2 separate regions of the Homo sapiens genome follow, and region 1 is linked to region 2. Evidence: promoter capture Hi-C in 16 types of primary human blood cells and fetal thymus (Javierre and others, 2016). All regions are on one chromosome and are shown on one strand. Each heading gives the region's core, a stretch centred on a gene start or on the middle of the fragment in contact. The rest is flanking DNA. Distances are from core to core; before and after follow the strand shown. Region 1 has its middle 11 kb from the start of KRT19. Region 2 holds the start of KRTAP1-5 (keratin associated protein 1-5).

Region 1 (3,912 bases), core at 239-2,738, 510 kb before region 2:
AGCTCTCAGTTTCCTAGTTGGCAAAATGGGAGTGATGACAGTGTCCACAGCATAGGGGAGCTTCGATGATTTAAACAAGTTCATGGATGCCACATACTCGAACAGAGTTAGGCATAGAGGAAGAGGCCAATACATTTAGCCTGTTTTTATAAGATTTCTTTTTTACTGGAACTTCCCACTATCCGCCACCTCCATGTCCTTACTCTAGGCACCATTTACTGTGGCTCACCCTGGGGCTGTGAAGGGCCCCCTCCTCCAGGGCGCCCTCCCTGCTTACCCAGGCCTTGATCCCTCACTCAGGGTGCCCTCCATCTGAGCTCCAGCAGCCCCGGGTCTATGTCCCTCCTCTGACCCTGGCCTGCCTCCTGCCTTTGTCAGGAGCCTACAGTGTTTACCTCTTTCTCTTCCCCGAGCTCAGGTCGTCCCCTGGGGACAGACATCCTGGCTCCAGGGCACCTGCCTGCTGGTTTCTGCTGAGCAGGACACCAGCTGTGGGACTTTAGGCAGGCTGAGGCCCCACTCTCTCTCAGTTTTCTGACCTATATAAACTGCTGGAGGTAGGCTGAAGCACGTGTTTGGGCTTTAAAAGAGGGAGAATCTTTGCTGAAGCAAAATCTCACAGAAAGCTGAGTATATAAAACCAGTGTGAATGCATGTGTGAGAAGGCCTGGGAGTGTGTGAGTGTATGTGTGAGCATGTGTATGCATGTGTGTGCATGTGTGAGTAGGTGTGAATACTGTGTGAGGTGTGTAAGTGTGTGTGAGTGTGGGTGGTCACAGCAGATCCGCTCAGCTCCCACCTCTCTGCTTAGGGCTTAGCAGGCGAGGCTTGAAGATCTCTGGGCTAGAAGATTTCTATGCCCCCATCCTACAAGTGTAGGAGTTTTGTCTAAATCATCTTGCTGGGCTTTTAGATGCTTATTATGTTTCTTTTTCTTTTTCTTTTTTTTTTTGAGACAGAGTCTTGCTCTGTTGCCCAGGCTGGAGTGCAGTGGCTCTATCTCGGCTCACTGCAAGCTCTGCTTCCCAGGCTCAAGCAATTCTTCCTGCCTCAGCCTCCCTAGTAGCTGGGATTACAGGCACTCACCACCATGCCCAGCTAATTTTTGTAGTTTTAGTAGAGATGGGGTTTCGCCATGTTGGTCAGGCTGGTCTTGAACTCCCGACCTCAGGTGATCCACCTGCCTTGGCCTCCCAAAGTGCTGGGATTACAGGTGTGAGCCACTGTGCACGGCCAAGAAGATGCTTACTATGTTTCTTAGCAGTCAAGGTGAGGATAAGGATGAGGTAACATGGACATGGCAGGAATGGGAAACTTGGGGTTCGTGAAGCCTCCTCTCTTCTCCCCATGCTCCAGCCCTTTCTTCTGAAGCCCCAGACATGGATATCCCTGTTGGGATGTGTTTGTTCGGTTTCTGTGTACCAGGTCCTCATTGTATGTTTACTCAGCGAGGACAGATATCTCTGGTGGATCTTCTCATCCCCACAGGCTCCAGCCCTAATCCCAGGCAAGGACTTTGGAGGAAGCACTTTCCTCTCCAACTCCAGCACATTCCACTGGAGGGGGAAGGGTCTTGGCAGGACTGAGCCAGGGGAGGGCAGAAGATGCTTCCTGGCACTGTGGTTCCTTGGTGCATCCCCCGTGCCTCCCTGGTGCTGGCACGGCTGGTAGGCCTTGGGCTGGTAATTGGGCAGCCTGCTGAGGGCTGATGCTGGCACTGGGTAGTTCCTGCCTGGAATGCACGTGAGATGCCTAAGGGAGCCGGTGAGGCTTTGTCTTCTGTTAATACTCTGTGTGTGTGTCTTTGAGGTGGGATAGTGTTCCTTTTCAACTGACTTCAAAAAGCGCTTCAGATACCAGGCCCCTCTCATGGGATCAGGCGTCAGCTGCTCTTCCTTGGGGCAAAGGGGATCTCCCCCGTTCTCCCTCATCTCCCCCTTAGTCCCCAGGCCTGGGCATTCCTGGTATTCCCAGCTCCTGGCAGCCCATCTCGCTATGTGATTCTCTGTGGTTTCTGCCTGATGAATGTTTATCCTGCAGCCGGTTGGAGCCGGGATGAGCAGGGCCTCAGCATCCTGTCTCCAGAGCAGCTCTGAAGCTCCTTCCAGCTGCTGTTAGGAATGCCCCTTCTGCCCCAACCCCCTGCTCACCTGGTCCAGAAACTCACTAACCTGACCACCCCTCCCCCAAGTCTGCAAGGCCCCGCTTGCCAGCCTAAAGCCAGTGGAGCCTGGAATGAGTCAGAATTGAAAATAATAAGCACTCCCCTCAACCCATGCTAGAGGTGAGACATGCTCACTGCTGCTTTTTTGAAAATGTAGAAAACACAGATCTTCATTAGAAATCATCTGTCTCTTGGCTGGGCGCAGTGGCTCACGCCAGTAATCCCAGCAGTTTGGAAGGCTGAGGTGGGTGGATCACTTGAGGTCAGGAGTTTGAGACCAGCCTGGCCAACATGGTGAAACGCTGCCTCTACTAACAATATAAAAATTAGCCAGGTGTGATGGCAGGCACCTGTAATCCCAGCTATTCAGGAGGCTGAGGCAGGAGAATCACTTGAACCCAAGAGGCAGAAGTTGCACTGAGCCAAGATTGCGCCACTGCATTCCAGCTTGGGTGATGGAGTAAGACTCTGTCTCAAAAAAAAAAAAGAAAAAAAAAAAAAAAAAAAAGAAAGTCGCCTCTTTCATACCAACCCCTAACTGTGGGCTCCGTCTGTGAAGGCAGGGCCCAGGTGGACACAGCCCTTGTCCTTCCCCTCCCTCAGCAGGCATCAGCGCTGGCAGAGATCGGGGTACAGTCATTGCTTGGTTAGTAGAACCTAATTCTGCCAGGACGCGTTCCAACACAGATCTAGGAGGGCCCCGGTGTGATTCCTTTCCTGGAGGTGGATTAGATAAACCACCGTCCCAGACCAGCTTCCTGACCTCAGTGCAAATAGGAGGCTCACACCTCAACCAGGAGCCATGCAAGATTCTCTCCTTCCCTTGTCCTCCCCATGAATCGTCAGCCTGACCTGCTGGCTCTGCCCTCGGGATATCCCTTGCACCAGGCCACTGTTCCTGAAGTCCTCTGATGTCTCCCCAGAACAAGCCCCCAGTGTCTCTCACCTGAACTCCATTAGAGCCTCTTATTAGATCTCCAGCTCTTTGGGCCCCACGGTCTATTCCACAGGGAGCAGCCAGGGGTGGGGAGGGCGTCCCAGTGCTCCTCTGCTCAAAGCACCATTACTCTCAAGATAAAAGCCAGCGCCTCCATTAGACCGCAGACACCGAGTGCTCTGTCCTGGCCTCCCCTGGGCTCATCTCCTGCACACTGTCATTCTGGCTCACCCCTCTTAACCACTGGGACTTCTTGGTGTTGCCTGAACAGACCAAGCTCCCTCTTCCTTAGGGATTTTGGCTTTGCTGTGCCCTTGGCTTGGAATAATCTTCCCTGGGGATCTGAGGGCTCCTTTGCCTCATTCAGGTCTCTGTTCATGTGTCACCTCCTCAGAGAGGCCTTCCCTGACCACCCCTCAATGGCCTTCCCTGCTGACCCCCTCCCTGGCTTTGCTACTCTGCCCCCTACCCCAGATGAAAGCCCCAGGAGGGCAGGCAGCTTTAGACTGCCCTGCTCTTGAAGCCCAGAGTCTAGAAGGTGCCTGGCACACAGAAGGTGGACCATAATTGGTGTTAAATGAAAAAAAATAAAAGGGCTTCAGGAGAAGGCTCTGTTCTGGCAAATAATCATTAAATGTTTACTAGTGCTGGAGTCAGCCCTGGGGCTAGATACAGAAGCTCCAAGTCTAGATGGGGAGACAGAGCTGTGGTAAGTGCTGGGCAAGTGGGTGGGGGTGGGAATGCTGACCCAGCCTGAGCGGGTCAGGGTGGACATATCAGGGAGAAGAAACCCATGCCAATGGAACTGAGA
Region 2 (4,154 bases), core at 1,491-3,990:
CATTGGCTATGGCCAGGAGGGCAGCGGTGGATCTGTGAGCACCCGTATCAGGTGGTGCCACCCAGATTGCCACGTGGAGGGCACCTGCCTGCCCCCCTGCTACCTGGTAAGCTGCACACCCCCATCCTGCTGCCAGCTGCACCACGCCGAGGCCTCCTGCTGCCGCCCGTCCTACTGTGGACAGTCCTGCTGCCGCCCAGCCTGCTGCTGCCACTGCTGTGAGCCCACCTGCTAAAAGCCAGGTTGCTGATCGCTTAAGAATGAAAGGGGAAGCACAGCAAAATTGTGCTGATTTCTGAAGAACTGTTCGATTTTACTTGGATGCTAAGTACCATGATGTTGTTAAGCTGCTCAGAGATAATGAAACTCCTAGTTAGGACACTGTGGATGTGCCGAATTCACTTACTGAAAGATGTATCAATCAGTGTTCTGGATAGCTTGCGTTGCTTGAGCAGAGGACCAGGATGGAATAGTTCATCATTTCAGTGACATCTCTGCTCCCCCAACTCTCTCTTGATGCTCATGCATCTTCAGACCTGGTTTTTCCTTGAATATCTCTGATTAATCCAAATAAAATGTTTTAATGTGCAAAGCAAACTGAGTTATGTCCTCCTTCTACCTTTAAACATGTCTTCTTGTAGCTGGTATTCAAGAGTGGATTTGCAATTTGATAATAATACCAAGGCATAACCATAAAGTCTAAACCAGAAAGATTAAATACAAAGTAAATTATGCTTGAATCCATCAGCTTAAAAATGCTCCATGAATTAAAGAATTTTTATAGTTCAAATATTTACATGCTCTAATCTATTATGATTAGGTCTAGACCAATAAAGGTTGACCTTTAGCTAAAATGTTAAGGTTGATCAAAGCTATTGATTTCTATCTAAATGTAATTCTACCATCTTTTGTCTCCTTCCATTTAATATACTAAATGTTCTCCTTCATTTATGCCCCAAAATCTAAAGAAATTGCATTACCTTCTAAATAGATTTAAAAATAGCTACTAGATACTACCTATTTTCCAAGAGAATTTAGGTTTAATTTCTACACCTTAGCCTTTCACATTCTTCCCACTGATCCTTGAATTGCTCTCTAAGCTTCAACTCCCACTATTCACCTTCATTTGATGTACGTATGCATAAGGTGTATCTTTGGTCTAAATGATAGTAGAAGAAACAGCTATAGAGAGCACCCGCTGAGTTCTACCATTGCCATTTGTCAGACAGAAGTGTTAGAAATCTGAAACAGCTCGATTATATTTTGCACTTTGCAACCCAACTTAAAAGATATTCTCTTAAGAAGTTAACACGCTGGACACGGTGGCTTACGCCTGTAATCCCAGCACTTTGGGAGGCTGAGATGGGTGGATCACGAGGTCAGGAGATTGAGACCATCCTGACTAATATGGTGAAACCCAGTCTTTACTAAAAATACAAAAAAAAAATTAGTCAGGTGTGGTCGTGGGTGCCTGCAGTCCCAGCTACTTGGGAGGCTGAGGCAGGAGTATGGCGTGAACCTGGGAGGCAGAGCTTGCAGTGAGCCAAGATCACGCCACTGCACTCCAGCCTGGGCAACAAGCAAGACTCTGTCTCAAAAAAAAAAATTAACACAACCTAGAACAAAACAAAACATATTTTACCATTTAATTTTTAAATTCTTCATTAGGCATTAGAGTGTAATACACAAAATACAATAGGATGCAAATATAGAAAGAAACACGTTTTCCACATTATTTACAAGCTCCCAGAACTTACCTCTATATTTAATTGGTAGCAATGATGGATTACACACAAAATTATGCAATTTCCAAGAGGAATAAAGTAGATGGCAGTACATTTTTCAAAGTGTCATAACTCCTAGATATTTTTTCCCGAGCCCGGTTCCACTACTAAATCCAAAAAATAAAATAAAATAAACCAAAAAACACATTTCCTAGTCTCTTTACAGCAAATAACAAGACTCTTTCATGAGAAGTACTACAGCTTGAAAGTTCTCTTTAATCATGTTTGAGTGGTATTGATATCCATGAATCAAGCCTTTTACTCCACCTATTCAATAAACATTTATTGAATCAGATTCAGTAAACATTTATTAAGGTTCTACCACAAACTAAGGACTCTGCTGGATACCTTCCTAAATACTATGTCAGTTTGGTTCCCAAGAACAGATTTCTGGTCTGGAACAGGAATAATAGTCACACATTCCAAATTGGTTGAAATCAAAGGAACTATAATCGGTAATTCAATAAGACATTGGAACAAAAAAAGGTGAAATCTGCGAATTATGTATGACCAAAGGTATTCCTTCAGTTCAGTAGATATCCAGATATCCAAAATTCAATAAAATTTAGTCTATATATCTAGGAGGAAAAAATAATAGTTAAATATAACAGCACAATTATTACTCTTAGCCTTAGAGGTATGGATAGATTGTCACGTGGAATAACTATTATGTAAAATGAGAGCATTCATTTGGACTAAAATGGAAGTACTCTTTGAACATGGGAAACCACAAACATATTCCAAAGAGCAAAGGACTGATATGAGGAGTCCAGAAGAAACTATAAAACAGTAATTTCTAAACTATTGCTCATAATGTGTCACAAGTATTTCAACATAAGCCAATCAGAGATCCACGGAGTAACAAATTTAAACAAAAACAAAGAAAATATGTTAACAATTTTGTAAACAGCAGCTGGTTCAGATATATAAAAGGACCAACGTGGAAGTCACCACCAAACCTCAGAAACTCCTCCAAGCAACCTAACTCTTAACCCAACTTCTGACACCATGACCTGCTGCCAGACCAGCTTCTGTGGATATCCCAGCTTCTCCATCAGTGGGACCTGTGGCTCCAGCTGCTGCCAGCCAAGCTGCTGTGAGACCAGCTGCTGCCAGCCACGCAGCTGCCAGACTAGCTTCTGCGGATTTCCCAGCTTCTCAACCAGTGGGACCTGCAGCTCCAGTTGCTGCCAGCCAAGCTGCTGTGAGACCAGCTGCTGCCAGCCAAGCTGCTGTGAGACCAGCTGCTGCCAGCCAAGCTGCTGCCAGATCAGCTCCTGCGGAACTGGCTGTGGCATTGGTGGTGGCATCAGCTATGGCCAGGAGGGCAGCAGTGGAGCTGTGAGCACCCGTATCAGGTGGTGCCGCCCAGACAGTCGTGTGGAGGGCACCTACCTACCCCCCTGCTGTGTGGTGAGCTGCACGCCCCCATCCTGCTGCCAACTGCACCATGCCCAGGCCTCCTGCTGCCGCCCGTCCTACTGTGGACAGTCCTGCTGCCGCCCAGTCTGCTGCTGTGAGCCCACTTGCTGAAAGCCAGTTTGCTTATTTTCAATTGCCTAGGTCACAGTGTCTCTGAACTGTTCATCCCTTGACCACCTCTGGACCACTAACAAGTTCTCAGACTTTGCATTGCTTGTGATGGAGACTACTAAGTATATGAGCTCACAATTCTATCTGATTCCATTCTACAATGAATACCTTGACCCTTCACTGGGGACACAGAAATGCTACAAAGCCACCTGCTGATCATCAATTTGCTTGGGATATACTATTTCTGATATTTCTGCAGGATTAAAAATTACTGACATGTTGTGGAATTTATCCATGAGAACTATCCACAAGTCTAATGTTTCCATGCTTTATAATCTATTTTATCTTGTTTACCTAAAATTTTTTGCAACATCAAAGACACCAAATTATAGCCAAGTGACATTCCTCAAGTCACCAGAGAGAATGGAAGCTCATCACCCAACATTCAGCTTCTAAGAAGTAGGCTGGACTTTCCACATTTTAACATCTGATCCATCCCTTGGTTTTTGGATCATAATGATCTTGCCTGCTGGATATTTCAGTTATATCTGTGATACAATGTCTTCTGTCATTTCTTAATAAATATTATATACTAGGCAAAGAAACCATTGTCTTTGTTTTCACTTGTACATCACCTGGTTTAACTGCTTATAATTCAAGAATGTCTACTTGAGGCCAAGAGCAGTGGTTCACACCTGTAATCCTAGCATTTTGGGAGGCTGAGGTGAGTGGATTACCTGAGCTCACGAGTTTGAGACCAGCCTGGGCAACATGGTGAAACCCTGTCTCTACTAAAAATACAAAAAAAAAAAAAAAAAATTAGCTGGGCGTGGTAGT

The links. Contacts are between HindIII fragments. The CHiCAGO score rates a contact against its expected background, and 5 or more counts as called.
Region 1: a contact is called between a fragment that was not itself captured here and the fragment with the promoter of KRTAP1-5 in region 2, in 5 of 17 cell types (total CD4 T cells, non-activated CD4 T cells, total CD8 T cells and 2 more). The highest score is 9.2, in total CD4 T cells.

The regions. Positions count from the first base shown.
Region 1 is chr17:41,536,996-41,540,907 of GRCh38, reverse strand. No RefSeq gene overlaps it. Among named protein-coding and RNA genes, the nearest start is that of KRT19, 11 kb to the right of the region's middle. RefSeq lists an enhancer at 1,115-1,735. The HindIII fragment of the contact is 5,266 bases long and covers 1-3,912 here.
Region 2 is chr17:41,025,794-41,029,947 of GRCh38, reverse strand. KRTAP1-5 (keratin associated protein 1-5) reads left to right here and starts at 2,740. Exons shown (of 1, transcript NM_031957.2): 1 at 2,740-3,922. The coding sequence starts at 2,793. The coding sequence ends at 3,317. KRTAP1-4 (keratin associated protein 1-4) reads left to right here. Exons shown (of 1, transcript NM_001257305.2): 1 at 1-597. The coding sequence ends at 235. RefSeq lists an enhancer at 114-663. The HindIII fragment of the contact is 9,785 bases long and covers 1,103-4,154 here.